4 separate regions of the Homo sapiens genome follow, and all the other regions are linked to region 4. The links are contacts of gene promoters, found by promoter capture Hi-C in blood cells and fetal thymus (Javierre and others, 2016). All regions are on one chromosome and are shown on one strand. Each heading gives the region's core, a stretch centred on a gene start or on the middle of the fragment in contact. The rest is flanking DNA. Distances are from core to core; before and after follow the strand shown.

Region 1 (2,700 bases), core at 185-2,684, 1.1 Mb before region 4:
ACCCCTCCTCGCAGCCTCCCCTTCTCAGGTCTGCCCTTACTATTCCAGGCCCCACAACCTTGCCTCCTCTAAATTAAAATGTTAACTATCAGGCTGAGAAGTAACCAGATAAATTAAATTCCTTGACCAGTTAATGACTAGTAATAGCTCGACAGATGATCTCTCTGAAGTGTTTGTATTCTTAAGACTCTCTAGGTACAAAGCATTCATTCAAGGTACTGCAGCTTTGTATATAGAATTTCAGGCACACTGGCAGGTATGATTATGACTTCTTTTGGTGGGAACAGGACTCTTTTAAATGCCCCTTAGATTAAATCCATTCAGTCCACTCCTTCTTTCTTGTTGGAATATTAAAATGAAGATTTCTTTACGAATAGTAGATATAGTAGCTTTAAAAAATATTTTAAAGCTATTCATTACAATTTCCTTTTCTTAAAGAGTTTTGATAAATCCAGTGATGGCTTATTACTCTTAGAATGTCTTATTGAATGTGGCGGGACATTTTGTTACTGACTTAAAATTAATGAATATAATATAAAAAATTAACATATCGAGAAAAGGCAAAGCCAAAAATATTAGAGGCCTGAGTCCTCTTGGCTGAAGTTTCTCACCTCAATTACGTAAGTCCTCAGTTAGTTCACTTTTGGAATCATGTCTAATACATTTGACAAGGGAGTAGCCTTGGAGTGTCGCTAAGAAGAAATTGATCAGGAAAAATGAGATGGCAAAGAAGAATGTTTCCAAGAAGAAGTGGGATTTAGGGTGGAGGCTGTAAAAAAATGGGAGCGGTTCCTTTAGGCATTGAACAAACATTTATTTTTTGCCTTCCACATGCCAGGACCTACTGCGTCTCCTCCGGATGGGTGCTCCTCGCCGACAAAGTCTAGATTGTGATTATCTCAAGGACTTGAGTTACCCTCACTTCCGACCTCCTCTCTCACAAACTGGTTCCAGGCGGGGAGACTGAGGATGGGCTGGGGAGGCTGGCAGAGGCGATCCCCACCTCGCGGAGCACAACATCTGCTGTGTTCTGCGGCGAGCGCCTGTCAAGCAGTGGGAGGAAAAAGCGCTTGGAGCCACCAGCCCACTCTTAAGCGAAACTCGCCTGGAAAACACCCCGCCTCCCAGCAGAGTTTCTGCCGGTTTCTTTAGAAGGGTGGTGCGGAAAAGCAACTTTTGGGAACTTGAAGGAGTGGGGTGTGGGGCGAAGTGGAAAGAGCACACAACGCGACCCCACTCAGTCCCCGCTTGGGACTCCCATCCCGGCATCAGGCGTAGTGGGCGGTCCGGGCCAGGGCCAGGGCCAGAGCGGCGGCGGCGAGGCCATGCCGAGGGCCCGTCGGCCGCAGTTCCCCGTCCGGCCTCGCGGGGGCGCCGGCGCTGCCGATCAGGTGACCGAGGGCCCGTCCGGGGCTGCGGGAAGCGGCCTCGTTCTCAGCCGCCGGAGACGCCGCCGCCGCCGCCGCCGCCGCCACACCTAGTGGAGCAGCCGGGGAAGGCGGCTCGTTGGGGGCTGGGGCGGAGAGCGCCGGGGGTGGGGGCGGAAGGGCGGCGGGCGGAAGGCAGGAGGCTGCCGGGGCGCGGGCTGCTGCGGGAGAAGGGGCTCCGAGGAGTCCGCCGCGGCTCGCTCTGTCGCCGGCGCGGGATTGGGGCGCGAGGGCCATGGGCGCGCTCTCCTAAGGCGGAGGTCGCGGGCGGGAGGGGAGGAGGCCCGAGAGAGGCTGCTGCGAAGGCCGCGGGCCCGTGACTGGGCGCGAGGCGGCCGGCGGCGGCGGCGGCACCAGCACCACCATGTCGCGCTCAGTGCTGCAGCCCAGTCAGCAGAAGCTGGCGGAGAAGCTCACCATCCTCAACGACCGGGGCGTCGGCATGCTCACCCGCCTCTACAACATCAAGAAGGTGCGCACGGGCCGGGGAGGCCGCGGCGGAGGCGGGCGGGCCCGGGAGGGATGAAGGGCAAGGGAGGCCGTGGGGTGGGGGCGGCAGGAGGCGCCGGGTGTAGAAATCTCGGCGTCGCCGCCCGAGGCCCGGCCCGGGGTCGCCTGGATGCGCCGCGGCCTAATGCGGAGTCCCGGGCGCCTCTCCCTGTGGTTCGCCGGCCGGCCGAAGGCAGAGAAGCCATTTCCCGGCTCCCGGCGGCGGGATCGGGCGCTGGGCCTCGCACGGGGTGGGGGCGCCGCTGGGAGCCGGGAGCTGTCCCCTCCTCGGCGCCCCCGCCCCCATGATGGGGCCCATAGGAAAGGGAGGGTGGTGGGTGGGCGAAATTCTAGGTGGGTAGGAAAACTTGAGTGTTCCATATTCTTACGGAGATGGCAGCAGTGAACAGGGATTACACCCCACATCCCCATTTTTTGGTGTGGGAATGTGGGTAGAGAAGGGCTGATTGGATGAATCCCGTATCCCCTCCACTTTGCCACTTTATTTTAGATTGCTAAATAAAAAGCCATTGAGAGTGTGTTGACGATTTGGGATTATTTCATTTTGAAGGTGGAGAGGAGGGGGAAGTGAGGGTGGAACCAATTTTCTGAAATACTTCTAGGCTGTGAGTCACTAGAACTGGAATAACAACCTTCTACTCTTTCCCCTGTACTCCTCCTCATGTTAGATTTTCCAATACCATTTCTTAAAGTTCGGTGTCTGTACAAAATAAAAACCGTAAAAATGTTGCAATTGCTGCTGATTTATAGCATAGTCTGATAA
Region 2 (2,700 bases), core at 139-2,638, 1.8 Mb after region 4:
CGAGTTAAATAACTGTCTTTGTTTTAGCTACTCTATTTTAATGTAGTTTATTATATAGAAATAGCTAACAACCCATGAAGTTTTAAAAAAGAGTATACCTACTGCAGTAGATTTAAGAAAAATAAAATTATAGTCCTTATAAAGAGATAAAACACAGCTAACAGAAACATAAAAACAGAGGATCAAGTGTATCACTTATTTCAGAAAGTAATAAATAGGCTAAATCCTGTTCCTCAGGTAAAAGGAAAATACTGTCATTCAGTTCAAAATAAATTTCAGCTATATGTGGTTAACAACATTTCTAAAATGATATGATAGAGAAATGTCAATAAAAGTGTGGGCAGATAAGTATTAGCAAATAGAAGCAAAAAAAAAGAAAGGCAGTGATTACATTATTATAAAATTAAAGACTCAAAAGCTTCAAAGGTATTAATGGTCTATTTATTTTTAAATAGATAAGGGGTTAAGTCAATAATACATAACAATTATAAATCATTACTTAGTATCATAAAAATATGTAAACATTATGAGTTCAAGAGAAAAATGACAAATATTTACAAATTAAATTTGAATTAAGATTGATTTATTTAGATTCAATATTCTATAAAGAGTGAATACGCATTATTCTCAAGCATCCCTAGAATGTCTAAAAATCTATCACATAGTAGATAATAAAGAAAACTTCAAGAAAATCTCAGAAATCAAAAATTTCAAGGGTTCATTTTCTGATAGACCAAGGGCCCTTATCCATGTATGGGCTTCAGAAAATCCATAGGCTTCCTGACACAGTATTTTGTGTTTATGATCATTTTCTCTGTGTTGCATGTACAGTTTTTCATCAATATTCCAACTAATCCCAATCCTTCATAAATATGAGATTAGGAGCTAATAAAGACAATTATAATGAAAAGTTAAAACTCCAGACACACAAAATTTCTAAAGAAAAAATATTTTAAATGTTAGTATTTAATATGATACAAACATGGTATAAACTACTGTCTGCATTTAATGAACAGATGTGTGTAATTGGAATTGCTCTAGGTTTACAGTGGACATAATTGTCATGTTTATTAATCAATGATCCATAAATAAGAGTGCTTGTTAGTGAGTCCTGCATGCATACTGCAATAAATATATGGCTTATTGTTTTATGTGTATGATTTTTATCAATTAGAAATTTTTTCTTGCAAGTGAAAGAAAATCTATTGCCTGTTCTATTTACAGACAGGCTCCTTCCTTAGAGAACTTGAGCAACTCCAGAAATACATAATCTCAGCTTCCCAAAATTTCCCTCTAGAACCTCCCTCTATCTCGGAAGTCTCCAAAAAGTCTCATGATATTTCTTTGGCTCTGATGGCATCACCTGAGTGTCCATGAACTAATCATTGACAACAGGGAAAAGTGGGGATCTGATTGGCTATGCCTAATTCACATATCCCAATAGACCTCCACCCAATCACATTTGCTGAGAGCAATTGATGAGTAGATTCCAAGTTCAAAATGGGAATAACTATCTAAACTAGCTGAATAAATAATGTTACTAGTAACATGATACATACAGTCTATTGAATATAAGAATTTGCTATTTGCATGTTTACTGTTCATTCTTGCCATTCTGCAGTTTAAGGAAATGGGGCTATTAAAATTTGCAAGCTGGCTATAATAATTAAATACTGTTTACATGTCCTTTTTCTCACACCTGTTTTCAAAATTAGTAGAAATGCCAAACTTCCTAGAATCTGGTAGTTTTAGGTGATTAAGATTCATGGAATAAAGCTACCCTATATCTGCATTATCTCATAGTTCATATATTAAAACTAAATTAAAATAACTCCCAAAATTTAGCTATTTAATTAAATCTTGAACTCTTTTGTTGTTTATCATTAATGATTCACACATTTCAGCAAAATCAAATGAGAGTAATTCATTGTTCATGCTCCTGCAAGATATTGAGACCTAAAAACAACTGAATTCTTTACTTGCAAAGATATTCTTTCATTTATAACTGAAGTTACAATGTATGGAAATTCAGTAAAGATAACTGATGGGAGATAAAGGGTCTTGAAAAAAAAGTTCAACAAAGTGAAAATTTCATATGAAAGAAAAGGCATAATATGAAAGTAAAAAAAGAAACCTAGCACACAGAGAGAAGACAGAGACCAAGAATTGTTCTAAGAATGTCTAAGGGCTTAACCTCCCCTACCTCAGCATAGCAGAGAAGAAAATGAAATGTATTTAATATTTCTTGGGCCTCAGAATATACGGTACATTGAAGCAATACAAGATAAATAATTTAGGCTGTTTCAACTGAGATTGGCAAAATCCCAACTTGTCATAAACAGGGTTTTAAAAGCTTGATACTGCATAAATAATTTATAGTTTCTGAAGAGAAGTTCTAAATTTGAAACCACGCATTAAATAGAAGTCTCTGTATCAACCACAGGGCCCTCATCTCCTTCAGGAGCTGACTGAGATACTTTACAAAAAGGTCATCATCATAAATAAAAGCAAAATATCACGGCTTATTTCCTATTTTTGCAAATATAAACCAAACCCAGGATGTTTAAGAGATATGTCATAGCATTTTTAAGCAAACAAGAACAAAAATGTTACTTATATGCTCTTATATTTATTAAGTAAATTGCAAGCTAAATTACCCTGCCTTTCTTTTTTATGGGAGAATAGGATTCATTCCATATT
Region 3 (2,700 bases), core at 56-2,555, 1.2 Mb before region 4:
AGGGCAAAGTCTTTGCGCTGAGAATTTCCGAGGAAAGGGTTTTTGCACCGGGAAGGTGGCGAACCAGCGTATGGTTCTGTGAATGCTTTTCATCCGGGAATGCTTCCTGATTTGTGGGTACTTAAGTTACATAGAAGCACAGATTATTTTACTCACGGTTTCATAATTAGCGTGAGTTGACCCAGTGCTCTATCATCGGTCAGCTTTTCTGAGTAGCACCTGGAAAAGTCAGCTTGATGAAAACAGTTGGTGCCTCTTTGCAATGTCGATTTCTGGACTTAGTACATGACGCTTTTTCCTCAAAGCATGTTTTCTACTATCCGTATGCCATTTCTTTTAAATTTTGTGTTATGTAGACAATTTTACATTAAAGCGTAACTCATACGCCGTTTTGTTGCATATTAAAACATACAAAAATATAGCTAACGAACGCATAAAGTACACATGTAAATAATGGAAGATAATTATACGCACCCACGAACCCTCCACACCGCGGAATCTTGCGTGCTTCTGCATGTGCCATCCCTGCCGTCCACGTCCCCTCACTTTGCTGCTTTTCTTTAGGGCATAGTCATACGTAAATCACATACACATATTCTGCATATGTGTGTGTAAAAATATATTGTTTAGTTTTGCTCAAATACTAACTTTATAAAATAATGTGCTACATATGTATAACTGGGGACGTTCTCTGCTCCATACCATGAGGATTATTTCCAAAATATCCACCCATGCTCAGCTATTTCTTCTAGGACTTCCTAAAATCTCAAATGGAGGAAGAATTTTGTCTTTGGAATGAGGCAGTAACAATTCCAGAATTAAATGGTAGGTTCACAGAAATCAAATTTTAAAACCACTCACAGATCGAATTGACTTTTTGAAAATGGGTGTGTGAATTGAATTGTGTCCCTCAAAAATTTATGTTCAAGTCCTAACCCTCATACTTATGAATATGACCTTATTTGGAAATCGGGTCTTTGCAGATGTAATAAAGTTCAGATAAAGTCACATTGGAGTACCACAAGCTCGGTTAACTAAACCAGCACAAATGTATCTCTTACAGTTCTGGAGGCCAAAAATCCAAAATGAGTATTGTAGGGCTAAAATCAAAGTACCAGAAGGACTATTTTCTTCTGGAGGCTCCAGGGGAGAATCTATTACCTTGCTTTTTCAAGCTTCTAGAAGCCACTTATATTTCTTAGCTTGTGCCACCTTCCTGCTTTTTCAAAGCCAACGATGTAGCATCTTTGGTCTGTCTGACACTGCTTTGTTCAGCTTCTGCCATCACATAGCCTTGTGATGACATTTAGGACCCACCCAGGTAATCCAGGATAATCTTACTATTTCAATATTCAGTAGAGGTGATTAAGTTAATAATCACATCTTCAAAATACCTTTTGCCATATAAGGTAACATTCACAGATTCTAAAGCTTAGTGTATGGATATCTTTGGGGAGTAGTCAGCCCACAACACAGGGCAATCCACTTTTTAGAATTAAGCTACCAAGAAAGGTATATCAATGTATAAATTTCTACACACATTGAGGCTAGATGTGGTGGCTCACACCTGCAATCCCAGCACCTTGGGAGGCTGAGGGGTTGATCACTTGAGTCCAGGAGTTTGAGATAGTGAGACCCCACTTCTCTACAAAATAAAAAAGAAATTTCTATACAAATTATGATCTAGCCAAACAAAAGAACACTATACAACAACTAAAATGAATTAGATGGATTTGATATGAGTGTAAATATTAACCTAGAAAGACCTCTGTGATAGATATAATGAAAAAAAGTAATTTGAAAACATGCATGCATATACGGCACCATTTTTATTTAATAACGGGTTTATTTAGGAACAGATGCAGAGAAAGAGAAAAGAGTGATACTTCTTTAAATAAAAGAAGATGTTGAAAAAGATTTGCACCAGCCGGGCATGGTGGCTCATGCCTGTAATCCCAGCACTTTGGGAGGCCAAGGCGGGCGGATCACGAGGTCAGGAGTTCCAGACCAGCCTGGCCAACATGGTGAAACCCCATCTCTACTAAAAAATACAAAAATTATCCGGGCATGGTGGCACATGCCTGTAATCCCAGCTACTTGGGAGGCTGAGGCAGGAGAATCGCTTGAACCCAGGAGGTGGAGGTTGCAGTGAGCCAAGACCATGCCACTGCACTCCAGCCTGGCGACAGAGCGAGACTCTGTGTCCAAAAAAAAAAAAGAAAAGAAAAAGAAAAAGATTTGCACCAAACTATTAACAGTAAAGTAGAAAAGGGTTTGTAAATTGGAGGATTTAAGAATGGCCTTTACACATGTATACATATGTAACAAACCTGCACGTTGTGCACATGTACCCTAGAACTTAAAGTATAATAATAATAATAATAAAAAGAATGGCCTTTAACTTATTTTATACAATTTTGTGGTTGATGACAGGTGTTATTGCTATTTTATTTATTTATTTATTTATTTTGAGATGTAGTCTCGCTCTGTCACCAGGCTGGAGTGCAGTGACACGATCTCAGCTCTGGCACTCCACTGCAACCTCCACTGATTCCCCTGCCTCAGTCTCCCGAGTAGCTGGGAGTACAGGCGCATGCCACCACACCCAACTCATTTTTTTTTTTGAATTTTAGTACAGACAGGGTTTTACCATGTTGGCCAGGATGGTCTCGATCTCCTGACCTCATGATCCACCTGCCT
Region 4 (2,700 bases), core at 150-2,649:
GTTTTAATAGCTCCCCAAACAGAAACAAAATTAAAGCCCATTTAGTGTAGTTAGGTAAATTAAACTCGTCTAAAACACATTTGAAAGGAAAATGATTCCGTGCCAGTTGTACAGATGCCAAAACTAAAGCAAAACAAAATATCCTGTTCGAGATGTGAGAATTCTTTCAAATAAAAACAGAACAAATATGGCATGATTATCTGTTCTGGATTTCTGATCTCTGATGCTAACACGATGCGTGAGTAGCTCAAGTCCTAACTGTAAAGTCAACACGGTCACCAAATAATCAGCGGTCACAGCACTTCCATTTCTAATCGCTTAGAGGAGGAAGCTATCCGCCGGCTCACTTTCCGGTTTGTAGCTTACAACGGTCGCGGGACCCACAGGGACGCGGCCCGAGTGGCTCTGCTCCGGCGTCCCGTCCGCACGGATCTCCCCCGGGACGCGGGCGGACCAGGGAGCACTCACCGGCAGTCCTTGAGCCATATCGCGATCTTCTCGTTGGGCACGTTTCCTGGGGGTAGAGAGAGGGGACAGCACGTTACCACCCAGGAGCACTACGACGGCGGAGTCACCCTGGACCCTCCCAAGTAGGAAAATCTACCACGGCAAATGCAGCCTAAGCGACACGTCTCAGTGTCCCTTGGCAGGGAAATCGGATGGCACCCAGTTGTCTGTGTTGACGCTGGGGGCGCCTCGTTCAGCGCGCGCGTTTGAAGGTCGGAAGTGTCCCCTCTCCCCTCGGCCTACCGTGCCCGAGGCTCTCCCAGAACTCGTGGCAGGCGCCCAGGGCGCACGAGACTCTCCCCAGCCCACCAGCCTCCCCCCGGAGCCCGGCCGGGAGCACCGACCTCTTCCCCCCGCTGCCGGCAGCTGCGCGCCGGGGAGGTCCTCCTCCTCGTCCTCCTCCTCGTCCTGCGTCGTCGCTTCTGTGGACAGATCCTCCGTCTCCGACGCTTGCCAGGAGCTGCGGCACTTGGCCCAGGCCTTCCTCCTGCGACTCGCCACTTGCCACTCCAGTTCCTCCTCCGCCTCCGCCGACGACGACAGGGGCCGGTCCATGGCCGCACTGGGGGCTCCGCTACCCCAGCCGGACCCTGCGCGAGACAAGGCGGCGGCAGGGACCCCCGCCCTTGCTGTCAGCGCCCGGCCGGGCAGGGGGCCCCGGGGAGCTGAAGCGGGCGCCGGAGGAGGAGGAGGAGGAGGAGGGGACAGGGAGGGAGGGAGGGAAGGAAGGGGAGGGAAGGGGCGGAGGGCCGGCGCTTCACATGAAGGCGGCCGGGCGCGCGCGGGAGCGCTAGTGGCCCGAGGGAGCGCGGCTGGGAGCCGAGCGCCCGCCCGGCCCCTGCTCCCCACCCCCTGCCTGACGCGCCCGGAGCAGGCCGGCCGCTGCGCGTCTGCGCGCCTTCCCTCGGCGGCGGCCCACGCCCCCTTCCGGCCGGGGCCGCGCGGGGCGCGGTAGGGCGGGGCGCGCCCGGCGCGACGCGGAGCAGGCCAGCCCCCGACTACTGCCCGCGGAATGGGCAAGATTAGTTTGTTAATAATCTTTCCTCCTCTCCTCCTCCTCCTCCCTCACCTAAAAATAGAACGTAAGTGGGGAGGCCAAGTCTCACAAAACATCCCCCGCGAGAAAACAAGTGTCTGCTTGGGCACCCTGAAACATACACTTGAAAGAGTCGCCTGAATATAGACTCTTTAGTGTCCAAGGAATTGGGGTAAGGACGGAAAGAGGTGCTTGATTGGTGTTGCCAAAATGTAAAAACTGCAAAAGACTAAGCTTCCTGGAGTGCTACTTTCATACTTAAAGTTATTTATCGTGTTTATGTTATGAATGAAAATGAATTGTGAAAGGATATTTAATCTGGAAATTTCACATTGAAGTTGGACTTTGGTGAGGGAGAATAGAGGAAACAATTGGGACAATGTGGAGATAGTTGCTTGGATTTTGGTGAGACAGCATGATACAAGAAACAAATGATGTCAGGGTTCAAAACTTTTTAAAGCCAGCTTTGGCATTCCGTTTTGTTATGTTTAAATTCTCATTAGCAAAAATACTCAAATTCTATCCAAAACCAGACACAATGTGACAGACCTATCAAGCAGCATTGTTCCCCTAAATGTTACATCTGAACTATACATATAAGTAAGGCTTCCAATATTTTATTGTACTTGGCTATGCTCTGAAGAACAAGTTAGAACACTTTTTAAAATCTTAACGTGATTGAAAAGAATATTTTGCGTAGACAAAATATTTTAAGGAAGGAATTATTTTTCATTTGAAATTAAAATCCAGAGCATAGTAAAATTCCTAATGGAAGCATTCGAATTACAAGGTAATTAAGTGCATTGTCATTGATAGCTACAGGAAACCATAACTTTTGGAGAATTTGGAATGAAGAATGCTCTGGAGATGAAATAGTGCCTAGTTTTTGTCCAGGCATTTACACATAAGTCATAGACTACTAAAATAGCACACTGATTTTCCTGCCTTCATTCTTTCCTATCTCCTTTCTAGCGCATTGCTCTAGATTTACAATTCCAAGACATCTTCTAATGGTTTACTAATATCCCCAAGATCAAATCCAAAATCCAGACTAGCTTTCCAGAACCATCATAATATTCTCCTGAGTCTCATCTATGTACTGCCAAATGTCAGGGGAGTTAGAACAGTGATATTAATATCTCTATGGCTTGAAATTT

Evidence for each region. The method cuts DNA at HindIII sites, captures the fragments that hold promoters and counts their contacts. A CHiCAGO score of 5 or more calls a contact.
Region 1: the fragment with the promoter of NCKAP1 here is called in contact with the fragment with the promoter of ITPRID2 in region 4 in 7 of 17 cell types (non-activated CD4 T cells, activated CD4 T cells, naive CD8 T cells and 4 more); the score reaches 15.5 in non-activated CD4 T cells.
Region 2: a fragment that was not itself captured here is called in contact with the fragment with the promoter of ITPRID2 in region 4 in 2 of 17 cell types (total B cells and naive CD4 T cells); the score reaches 6.2 in total B cells.
Region 3: a contact is called between a fragment that was not itself captured here and the fragment with the promoter of ITPRID2 in region 4, in 1 of 17 cell types (total CD8 T cells). The highest score is 5.3, in total CD8 T cells.

What each region holds. Positions count from the first base shown.
Region 1 is chr2:183,037,191-183,039,890 of GRCh38, reverse strand. NCKAP1 (NCK associated protein 1) reads left to right here and starts at 1,434. Exons shown (of 31, transcript NM_013436.5): 1 at 1,434-1,899. The coding sequence starts at 1,792. RefSeq lists silencers at 861-1,512, 1,245-1,834, 1,895-2,014. The HindIII fragment of the contact is 8,317 bases long and covers 1-2,700 here.
Region 2 is chr2:180,112,144-180,114,843 of GRCh38, reverse strand. No RefSeq gene overlaps it. Among named protein-coding and RNA genes, the nearest start is that of EPCART, 12 kb to the left of the region's middle. The HindIII fragment of the contact is 1,935 bases long and covers 421-2,355 here.
Region 3 is chr2:183,121,601-183,124,300 of GRCh38, reverse strand. It overlaps LOC124907917 (a long non-coding RNA gene), which reads left to right. Exons shown (of 2, transcript XR_007087331.1): 2 at 1-384. It also overlaps a transcript of NUP35 not described here. Among named protein-coding and RNA genes, the nearest start is that of NUP35, 1.5 kb to the left of the region's middle. The HindIII fragment of the contact is 256 bases long and covers 1,178-1,433 here.
Region 4 is chr2:181,890,429-181,893,128 of GRCh38, reverse strand. ITPRID2 (ITPR interacting domain containing 2) reads right to left here and starts at 1,399. Exons shown (of 18, transcript NM_001130445.3): 1 at 852-1,399; 2 at 469-514. The coding sequence starts at 1,062. RefSeq lists silencers at 763-902, 1,193-1,522. The HindIII fragment of the contact is 2,528 bases long and covers 1-1,779 here.